Regions from separate parts of the Homo sapiens genome. Here region 2 is linked to region 1. Evidence: promoter capture Hi-C in 16 types of primary human blood cells and fetal thymus (Javierre and others, 2016). All regions are on one chromosome and are shown on one strand. Each heading gives the region's core, a stretch centred on a gene start or on the middle of the fragment in contact. The rest is flanking DNA. Distances are from core to core; before and after follow the strand shown.

Region 1 (5,492 bases), core at 1,739-4,238:
GCCCAGCCTTACACTAACATTTTGCTCTACCTATCTCTGAGGATTGTGGTAGCCTTTGGGTTTAGAGGTCACACAAAGGATCTACTCCATTTTTTTGAGACAGAGCAAGACACTGTCGCCCAGGCAGGAGTGCAATGGTGCAATCTTGGCTTGCTGCAATCTCCACCTCCTAGGTTCAAATGATTCTCTGACTGACACCCAACATGCTGGGATTATAGGTGTGTGCCACCTCCACCTACTACGTTCAAGCGATTCACCTCCCTGACTCCCAACTAGCTGGAATTACAGGTGTGTGCCACCACACATGGCTAATTTTTGTATTTCTAGTAGAGACAGGTTTTGCCATGTTACCCAGGCTGGTTTCGAACTTCTGGCCTCAAGTGATCCCTCTGCTTCAGTCTCCCAAAGTCCATTCTTTATTAGAAAACAAATATCAGACATGGCATGGTGGCTCATGCCTGTAATCCCAGCACTTTGAGAGGCTTAGGCAGGCGGATCACTTGAGGCCAGGAGTTCAAGACCAGCCTGGCCAACATGGCAAAACCCCATCTCTACTAAAAACACAAAAATTAGCTGGGGGTGGTGGTGTATGCCTGCAGTCCCAGCTATGCAGGAGGCTGAGGATTGCGTGAACCCAGGAGGCAGAAGTTGCAGTGAGCTAGGATTGCGCAACTGCACACCAGTTTGGGCGAAAAGAGCGAAACTCCATCTCAAAACAGAAGAAAAGGAAACAAATATCCGATGGGCGTAGTGGCTTACACCTGAAATCCTAGCACTTTGGGAGGCTGAGGCAGGAGGATCCCTTGAGCCCAGGAGTTCGAGACCAGCCTGGGCAACATGGTGAAATCCTGTCTCTGTTAAAAAATAATAATAAAATAAAATAAATTTCCTTACCACCTAATGGTGCGTTTTTATGTACTGAGCAATCACCTCCTTACAAATTCACATTTCTATAGAAAAGAGAGTAGAATTATTCTAGACAAGAACACAGTATGACATGATAAAAAGAATAAGGACTTTGGAGTCAGAGGAATTTGTATTCAATTACAACTTACTAGCTGGGGAAGGCCTTCTTCTATAGGAGGGCATACCAATACTTTATTATCACAGAGCTAGTCGATAAATCTGTTATTAAACATAACTTTATTATACGTATATGTAAGTGCTAGGCACATATCAGTTCTCCCTCCTCATCTTTTCAGCGGAGAAAAAAGAACAGAAGCACTAAGATCTCATTTAATCACTTTATGTTAACAACTGATGAAAAATTAAGTGAAGAAATTAGCTCTTCCCTTAAAATTCTTAGCCATTTCTATCCTAGTCCTCTCAAACTCAGTTTTCAGTCTTATCGAAGCTGTAGTTAGGTCAAAAGCTAGGAATTTTTTCCCTAAGTATTATATAAGGGAGAGGACAAGCAATATCAACTGTCATTCAACCACCAATAACACTTTAGTGAGCCAGGCCCTATTGTCCATCTCCAGGACACGGAGATGAGCCAGGCATTAGCTCTGCCATCAAGGACCTCCGACTGGTGGGAAGATAGGTACACCGGTAATGACAGCAGCACTGAACAAAAAGTACAAATAGATTAGTACCACAGAATGCTACAGAAACAGGTGAAGAAGAGACTAAGCTCTCGCTGAGGTTTCATTTGGGTCTTGAAGCACAAATGTTAAGTCCACTGGGTGGAGAACAAAAAGAAAGGGAAGAATGGCATGTATTCTGTGAGAAGAGACAACCAGTGCAAGAGTTTTGAGATATGCAAACACAAGAACACATGGCATATCTGGTCATGTGAGGATGGGTGGAAGAGGGCTGAGCAGTCTTGGGAAATGGGAACAACAGAATGTTGGGAAGAGAGGAAATCACATTGTGCAACAGTGCTAATGTTCTTAATGCCACTGAACTTTATACTTAAAATTGTTAAAATTGTAAATTTTATATTATGTATTGACATATTTTGTATTTGTATTAACATATTTTAATGCTGGATGAATGAATCCATGTAATGTTTAAGGATCAGTATCCTGCTGGATGCTCTAAGCCTTGCCACTCTACAAGTCTAAGGATCTAAGAATGCAACCAATGCACTGGTGTAAATTTGGGGGCATGTCAGGAATGCAGAATCTTGCCTCACCTCCTCTGCTTGACTTATCAAATAGAATCGACATTTGAACAACGTCCCCAGGTAATTTGTATACACATTAATATCTGAGAAATAGGACATCAGGATGATTTAGGATCAACCCTAGCAACATCTACGTGGAGACACATGGAGCATCACTGACTCCCGACAGGGACTCTGCCCACCTGTCACAACTTCATGGTGAGGAAGGTACTGCCCTCCTTCCTAGGTGAGCTGTTCTACCAATAGAGAGCTCTTCCCCTATGAAGTCTGTGACCCCCGCCTGCTTAGACTGCGCCTGAAGGAATTCTATAGACCCTTCTTTCAGCCCCTTAGAACCTTGTGTATATTCCAACTGGTCCCTGGGAGGTTTTTTTTTGGAACGGGGGTGCGGGGAGGCTAGAAGGGGCTCTGCTGCTAACTGGCTGTATCCTCGTACCCCTCCGGAAGGCTCAATGTCCACATCTGGAAAACGAGGATGCTAATGTAACGCGATGGAGCAAAGTTGTGTGAGAGAATAAAATGAAATAACGGATAAGACAGTTTCGTAAATTAAAAAACACTGTTTCTCCTAATAATTTTTTTAAAATCCTGTCAGACTTCACATATTAATGACAACAGCGGCTGCAAACTAACACGCCCACTAACTTGCAATATCAGAGATTATCAACAAGTCAGCACTTAACACGGGCGTATGGAGCCTCTTCTGTTCCGGCAAAGTGCCTGGGATTTGGATAATCTACCCTGGTCCGGATCGGTTCTGGATCTTTCCCGCCAGAGCTTACCTGAACCACTTTCGTGAATTCCTCATAAACCCGCTTCTTAAGGTGCGCCGCCATGCCTACCCGCGGGCCCTCTCAGCTTCCGTACACTAGGAGGGAGGCGGGGGTGGACGGATCCGGAAAACTTGCGTAGGCGCGGGGGGTGGGTGGATGACTTGCCGAGATCCCACAAGGCAGTGGGATTTGGGGAAAGAGCGACCGCTTCCTGTTGCTCGACTGCCTCGCCACTGTACGGACTGATTTGGCGGCCTACGCCGGAAGAACGGAAATAAGAGCTTCGCTTGTGGGAGGCGGGGCCTCTGGCGGGAGGAGCTGAGACTGAAAGGGTGGGCAACCCAATGGGAGCTTTGGGAGGCTGGTTGGTGGCCTCGGAGTGGCTAAGAGACTAGCGCGGCGCGGCGCGAAGGGAGGGAGGGAGGAAGTACAGGTTAAAGGGCAGAGGCGGGGTGCTCCAGAGCTAGAGGCAAAACCCGGAGCTCTGTAAGGGGTTTACGACTCGTGAAAAAACTCAGAGGCTCGGCTGACTTTCCCATCATCCTTTGCTGTACACGATGCTGTTTGTAGGTTTCCTGAGCACTGCCTTTGTTCAAGCTGTGCGCCACCTCTCTTGTTTTGGGGTGCCTTTCCATACTTCCTTATTCCAGTTTTGCAAAAGCTGCCATCCTTTAAGGCATCAATCCCTGCTCTGATAGCTATAGTACAGTAGAAGACTTCTGAGACCAAGGATAAAGCAACAAAGCTACAGACTACAGCTCTGGTTCTTGAGCAAATGGCTCAACTACAAATGCATTTATAATAACTAACCTGACAAAGATGTGACAATGGAGTGAAATAATGCAGGAACATTTTACGGACTGTAAGGTGTAGTGCACATGTTAGTGTCAGTAAATCCAAGGTCAAGTTTTACAACCTACATGAAACTAGCTGTTCATTATTTTGGTCTTTCAAAAGAATGTGGGCCAGGCGCGGTGGCTCATGCCTGTAATCCCAATACTTTGGCAGGCCGAGGCGGATGGATCACTTGAGGTCAGGAGTTCGAGACCAGCCTGGCCAACATGGGGAAACCCCGTCTCTACTAAAAATACAAAAATTAGTCGGGGCATGGTGGCACACGCCTGTAATCCCAGTTTCTTGGGAGGTTGAGGCAGAAGAATCACTTGAACATGGGAAGCGGAGGTTGCAGTGAGCCGAGATCGCGCCACTGCACTCCAGCCTGGGCGACTGAGCGAGACTCCGTTATCAAAAAAAAAAAAAAAGAATTAATGTGGGATAGTTTAAAAAAAAAAAAGCAGGAGGCTGAGGTGGATACAGAGGACCCAAAAATAAACAAAAGATAGTATTTATCCTCAAGGTCCTACAATCTGAGAAGACAGACACCCAAACTGATGGTGACAGTGCAACTGAAATGTGCTGGGTAACGGGAATGAATGTGGTTCAAACAGACCTAATTTCTTCAGAGTGCCTCAGGGAAGGCTTTCCTAAAATTAGAGGAAACTGGGAGTGGTGGCTCACGCCTATAATCCCAGCACTTTGAGAGGCCGAGGCGGGCAGATCACCTAGTTCAGAAGTTTTGAGACCAGCCTGGGCAACATGGCGAAATCTACTTTAAAAATACAAAATTTAGCTGGGCATGATGGTGGCCCACGCCTGAAGTCCCAGCTACTCTGGAGGCTGAGGCGGGAAAATCGCTTGGGCCTGGGATGTGGAGGTTGCAGTGAGCCGAGATCCAGCCACTGCACTCCAGCCTGGGCAACGGAGTGAGACCCTGTCTCCAAAAAAAAAAAAAAAAAAAAAAAAGGCTGGGCGCGGTGGCTCACCCCTATAATCCCAACACTTTGGGAGGCCGAGGCAGGCGGATCACCTGAGGTCGGGAGTTCGAGACCAGCCTGGCCAACATGGTGAAACCCCGTCTCTCCTAAAAATACAAAAACTAGCCGGGCGTCGGGGTGGGTGACTGTAATCCTAGCTACACGGGAGGCTGAAGCAGGAGAATCGTTTGAACCCAGGTGGCAGCGGCTGCAGTGCGCCGAGATCGGGCCTCTGTACTCCAGCCTGAGCAACAGAGCGAGACTCTGTCTCAAGAAAAAAAAAAGAAAAAAAAAGGAAACTATTTCTAATGCAGCTTTAAAAGAATGAGTTTTTCCAGAAACAAAGGCATCCCAGACCGCCGAGATAAGATATACAAATATGTCAAGGGAAATGAAAAACATTTAGCAAACAGTACCTTTAATAAAGCTTAGCTGCTATTATTACCATTATCATATTCTATCAAATCTAAGCTGCCAGCAATTGTAAAATCAATATTTTATTTATTATGTTAAGAAAAGAAATGCTGAAATTAAATACAATGGTTTCTAATTGCTTAGATTTGTTATGTATACTTACAGAAACAGCTCTTTTTAACTTATTTAGACATAGATTTGTATCTTACCTCGCACTGCTGTTTCCATGTCTTCCTGTGCACATAAGAACTTTTTAATGCCAAATTATAGGGTAATCTATTTGGAGATATATTTAATAGTAATTTAAAATAACACATGTAATTCCAAAATTGCACAGAGCTCAGTCGAAGCGATGACACCATG
Region 2 (5,307 bases), core at 1,334-3,833, 5.3 Mb after region 1:
ATGTTATTTATAGTAGTGAAAAATTGAAAATAGTCTAAGTATTCAAAAGTGATTAAATAACTTGCAGAAGTGTCCCAATTTGGAATATTATGCAAGAATTTAGTATTTTTAAAAATAATCTTAGTGACAGGAAAATCCTTAATACATGTATATACATAATTATAATTCTGTATAATTCTTATATACAGGATTATAATTATAATTATATACATGATTATAATTCTGTTAAATGATAGGATCCCTGCTTGGGAGGAGCTAACAGGCTAGTGGAAGATACAGACCAGTAAGTGTTATCACAATATTTTACTTAACTTAAGGAATTATTATGAAAAAAGTGGATCTCTTTATATATTAATTCATGTTACTATTATTTATATTAACATAAAGCTCTCTCTGTAACACACATATACAGTGTTGATTATGTTCTCTTTGATGGAAGTGGCAATTAGATCCAGGGATTCTTAATCATTCTCTGAGGCTGGCTGGAACTATATCAAGTGAGTGCAGGAGCTTGGGTCATCCATAATCTACCATGCAGGCCAGAGAAGCATAGGAAGGAAAAGCAGGAATAGCAGATGAAGTGAGTCCAGATAGTATTCAGCTAATAGATACAGCTCCTCTCTGAGACCTCCTAATGCTCCTGTGTATTTTCAGATTCTCCTTGGTTGCTATTGTTTCTTTGTTAAACATCTTAATTTATAAAAATATTTTTCCATAAATTTGTTAATGTTTTCTCATGTTTGTTGAGAGGAATAGAAAAGATGATGCATCTAAAATACTTAGCACTGGACCTGGCATATACAAGCACCCAATAAACAATAATAATACCTGCTTACTCAGAGTTAGGAAATAATTTCCATGGGTGTCTCATGTTTCTGTATGTTTTACAAATGGAGGTCTTCTCTGCCTTTTGTTGTGGCAGTTTTGTATAACGAACAACCTTAGGAAATATAGCATCTCTCTCTGGAGCAAAAGGCCTCATGCTTACTGCCTATTATAAAAGATTTGTGTTCTCATAGGTCAGGGTTCCTCTCTGTAATGCAATGTACTGTACGTGCTCAGGCATCTACGTAGCCCCAGCTGCATCATCCCCATGAACTTGGGGCCAAGGGGAGCTGACACAAATATGCCGATACTCGTGCTGCTCGCTGCACCATCAGTAATTGGGTTCTTTGTTTCTAGCAAGGAGTCTCATATCTTCTACCAGCATCCATGCAACCATGACAGGATAACTTGATAGCCTGCTAATAGGGTAAGATCTCGGACCCTTCACAATATTATTCTTCTCTGGACTTTTAAACATTTTTCATTTTTCCAGTTTTACTTACAGAAATATCTGAGTGCCAGCTAGGTTTAAGGTTAGATGTGAGGAATGTAAAGAAAACCAGTTCAATCCAACAACTATTCAAGTTCTTACTACGTGCAGGGATTTCTGCTAGGATACGCAAGGATTGCAAAGATTTCTGCTCTCCAGTAATTTGTAATATATTAATAACTGAGAGAATAGAACAAGCATTTTAATAGCCTTCAACACAGAGCTTTAATAGGTTAGTGTCATGTAAATGTTAAGAAAATAATAAATCCTATAATTCAGTTGAAGGTTAAATGCTTTTTGATAATGGTTATCAAGAAGAGATAGGATTTGAACCTTAGGGGTTTTAGTTAGTAGAGGTTGTAAGGCAAGGGGTCCAGGAGAGAGGATTGGAGTGAGCAAGTACAATTTACTCATCGCTTTGCTCCTTCCTACTCAGGGACTTTGCATATGGTAAAGCATCACTACTCAACTTGGAGCTCTTTCTCCTCTTTATCTGGCCAATTCCTTTATATCTTTCAGATTCCAGTTTAAATGGTGACTTTTTAGAGTAACTCTTTAAGAAGTCATTCCCACTCAAACAACATGCAGATTTGGTACTTTTGTTATGGACTCATACAGCAACCCAGCCTTCCCATGTCTCTGCACTTAATATTTGTTTTCTCCATTATGGTAGAGACCATATGTGTCATGGTGTCTCCAGTGCTTATCATGCCTGGGCCATAACAAGCTTTTGGTAAGTGTGTGTTGAATGAATGAGTGAATGTTCAAAATATGGTCATAGTTTGGTGAGGAAACTTCGTAGACTGGGGCATAGGAATTATATGAAGACTGGGTGGAATTGGGGTGAACAAAATGAAAAAGGTAGAATAAAAAAGACTAAGGAAATTGAATTTCATACAGTGGACTTGCAGGAGATTTTGAAATTTTTTGAGCTAAAATAGATAAAAATCAGTTTGAATTTCTTTCTAGAAAATAACTATTTGCCATTTGCTAGTGTAGGCAAATGAATCCTTTCCTCTTCCAATGTCTGATGAGATGGCCTGGACATGAGAAATGCTCCCCTGCTGAAAGCAGCCTAGTTTATCTAAATCTCAAAGGCCAACAGGGTAGCAGGGAAGTGGGTCCTGGTTTTTTTCATTGCAAATAACCACTTTTTTTTTTTTACCTTTATAAGCTCCCATTTAAAACACAGCTTACACTCTTTACCAACAACATGTATGAAGCCACTACTTATTTTCCTATTTTCCATTAATTCAAGATAAGTTACTGTTGGTGAGTGGGAGATAAGCAGTGCTGATTTAACAGTAAGCTGATAAATTTACAGGGGAAGGCGAAGATACTTGCCAATTTCTTCAGTGGTTTCCAATTTCATCTCCAGCAATGATACAATTTTTTGAGGCATTTTAATATGTCCAAATCCTCTTGAGGACCCCATTGCTCCAGTACTCTTTCCTCTGATGTTTAGAGGTCTGGGGTCCCAGCTTGGGCACAATTGTATCAGATGACCAGAGATCACCCAGGACTACGACTATAGCTCTGGTGACTTCACGGAGAGAGAATGCAGCCTGGACCACTCACATGTGTCAGTCATTTTCTCTTGGAATAGGTGATGTGAAGGAATCTCGATGTGTTTTAAAGCCTGTGAATGAGGCATTGAGAAAGAGAGAGCTCTGGACCAAATGGGTTTCATTTTCTTCCTTAGCTTACTTGGAGCTCTTGCCACTAGGGGGAGGATGTGAAAAGAACCAAGGACAATTCTTTGCTTCTTTGCTCTCATCTCTGAAGCTGAGTCAGAGGGCCCATTGTCACAAAAGCTTTGTGTAGCTTTATGTTAATTTCACATTTTGCATGGCTGGAAAGTGACTATCAGCCCGTATTCCCTGAAAATCTGGGGAAATTTTTTTTTTCCTAATTATACAGGGAGGCTGGCAATGACACCCGATTCCGAGTTTGCCCATTAAAATAAATCAAAGAAAAGAATGATTAAAAGAATGGTAGAAAAGAAGAAGAAAGAGCTGTCAAAACATTATATACTTTGCAATGTTACATCATAACCTGGTGTCTCTCATCGATTACTCATTTTTTCTTTGAATGACTATTGAACACTATTTATGGTGCCAGGCACTGTGCTAAGCCATGAAGATATAAACATAAAACACAGTCCTGCTCTCAGATTGTCAACAGTCTATTGTAATAAATATTATGATGAAGGGTAGTATAGGCTGCCAAGGGAATGCATAAGAGAGGCTTATATTACCCTAAGCAGGGATCCGTCGGAAGGCATTAGTTTGAAAGGATGTGTGAAAGACAGTTTGGTTAAATGGATTTGGTGAATGGTGGTGTGGAGTACGTTGTGTGGAAAAGGCAACAGCACTTGCAAAAGCCGGGAAGTGTGTGTGAGAGAGCCTGGTTCATTTGGGAATGGAGAGAATGGCTGGAGCAATGGGTTAAGGGTAGGGAAATTCAGAAGGTGAGGTTGGAAAAGGTGAGGCTGGCCTTCAAGGTCTTTTTTACTTTATCCATGAGTAAGAGGAATCACTGAAGGGCATTAGGCTAGGGAGTAGCTTTGAAAAGAAAGGTGGCCAGGCATGGTGGTTCACCCTGTCATCTCAGCAGTTTGGGAGGCCAAGGTGAGAGGATCAGTGGAGCCCAGGAATTTGAGACCAGCCTGGGCAACATAGCGAGCTCCTGTCTCTATAAAAATTAAAAAAAATTAGCCGGGCAATGGGACACATGCCTGTAGTCCCAGTTACACAGGGGGCTGAGGTGGGAAGATCTCTTGAGCCCAGGAGGTCAAGGCTACAGTGAGCCCTGATTGCACCACTGCACTCCAGCCTGGGCAACAGAGACCCTGTCTCAAAAACGAAAACGAAAAAATGAAAAGAAAAGGAAAAAAACCAAAAGGGTGTTTGCCTGCCCTTTGCTGAGTCCTTCAGCGGTCAAGGCTGTGTATTTCACCTAGATTCCCTGTCCTAGGTACTGATCTGGAAAACCCTAGACATCTGCCCCTTTCCTGGTCAGAGAAGACCCCTGGCCTGGCAGAGCCTACAGCTCCAGCCTCAAGGTACCTGATTGGAGAAGTCCTCCTCATTGTATGACTTGGCTGCCTTGGACCTCACTGGGAAAGACTAGGGAAATAGGATTTTGGGGTCTTGACTTTGGAATTCATTTTCCGCACTGGGGTATAGCAGAGCTGAAAAATCTCACTAAACTCTCAGCATGGTCTGTATCCTTCCTGTCTCCAACAACAAGGTGGGGCATTCTTCCTCAAAAATTCTTCACATGTAGGTGTTGCCTCATCTCTTATCTCACACACATGAGCTCATTTGAGCTCTTTGGCAACTCCGTGAGCTGGGTACCATTGCTCCTGTTTCATAGATGGGAAAACAGGTTCAGAAGGCTGAAGTGACTTGTCCCAGGTCACAGAGCAAGTACGTGGTAGAACTCATAATCGATTGTGCTGCACACTGCATAGATAAGTCACCCCTGTTCCTTCCACCAATTTATTTTAACTGGGTACATGGCACAAATTGTGAAATTATGTGTACTCTTAGGGACACATCATCCCTCATCCTCCAAGAAACTGTTAGTACAGAAGTGACAAATGGGTTTCATCTTCATGCCAATACCCTTCAATTGACCGTGGCTGCTTAGAACAAAGTGATGAGTGTTGTGAGGCCATATCTTGGTGCAGCAGTAAAGAATACATGATTGATTGGTAGTATCTGATATGAATGCAGGAGAGAAAGGGGGCAGCACATATGCCATTTCTAGATTATATATTCCCCTTAGGCTGCCATAATCCTGCACTGGCCATGACATTTCCACTGACTCCCACCTTCATCCCAACACCCATTTTGCTCATTTTCTCTTATTCCTTCCCTTCCTTGCTGAAATTGTTCCCACCCATTTAACAATAGCTTCAACTTACTGAGGGTTTAGTGGGTACCAGGCACTTTGCGTATATTATTTCTAATTCTCCAACAATCATG

Evidence for each region. The method cuts DNA at HindIII sites, captures the fragments that hold promoters and counts their contacts. A CHiCAGO score of 5 or more calls a contact.
Region 2: a fragment that was not itself captured here is called in contact with the fragment with the promoter of INTS4 in region 1 in 1 of 17 cell types (non-activated CD4 T cells); the score reaches 5.2 in non-activated CD4 T cells.

The regions. Positions count from the first base shown.
Region 1 is chr11:77,991,680-77,997,171 of GRCh38, forward strand. It overlaps INTS4 (integrator complex subunit 4), which reads right to left and starts at 2,989. Exons shown (of 23, transcript NM_033547.4): 1 at 2,911-2,989. The coding sequence starts at 2,964. RefSeq lists an enhancer at 2,904-3,103 and a silencer at 3,304-3,373. The HindIII fragment of the contact is 5,814 bases long and covers 1-5,140 here.
Region 2 is chr11:83,290,104-83,295,410 of GRCh38, forward strand. All of the region lies in intron 1 of CCDC90B-AS1 (CCDC90B antisense RNA 1), which reads left to right. Among named protein-coding and RNA genes, the nearest start is that of CCDC90B, 6.4 kb to the left of the region's middle. The HindIII fragment of the contact is 1,087 bases long and covers 2,041-3,127 here.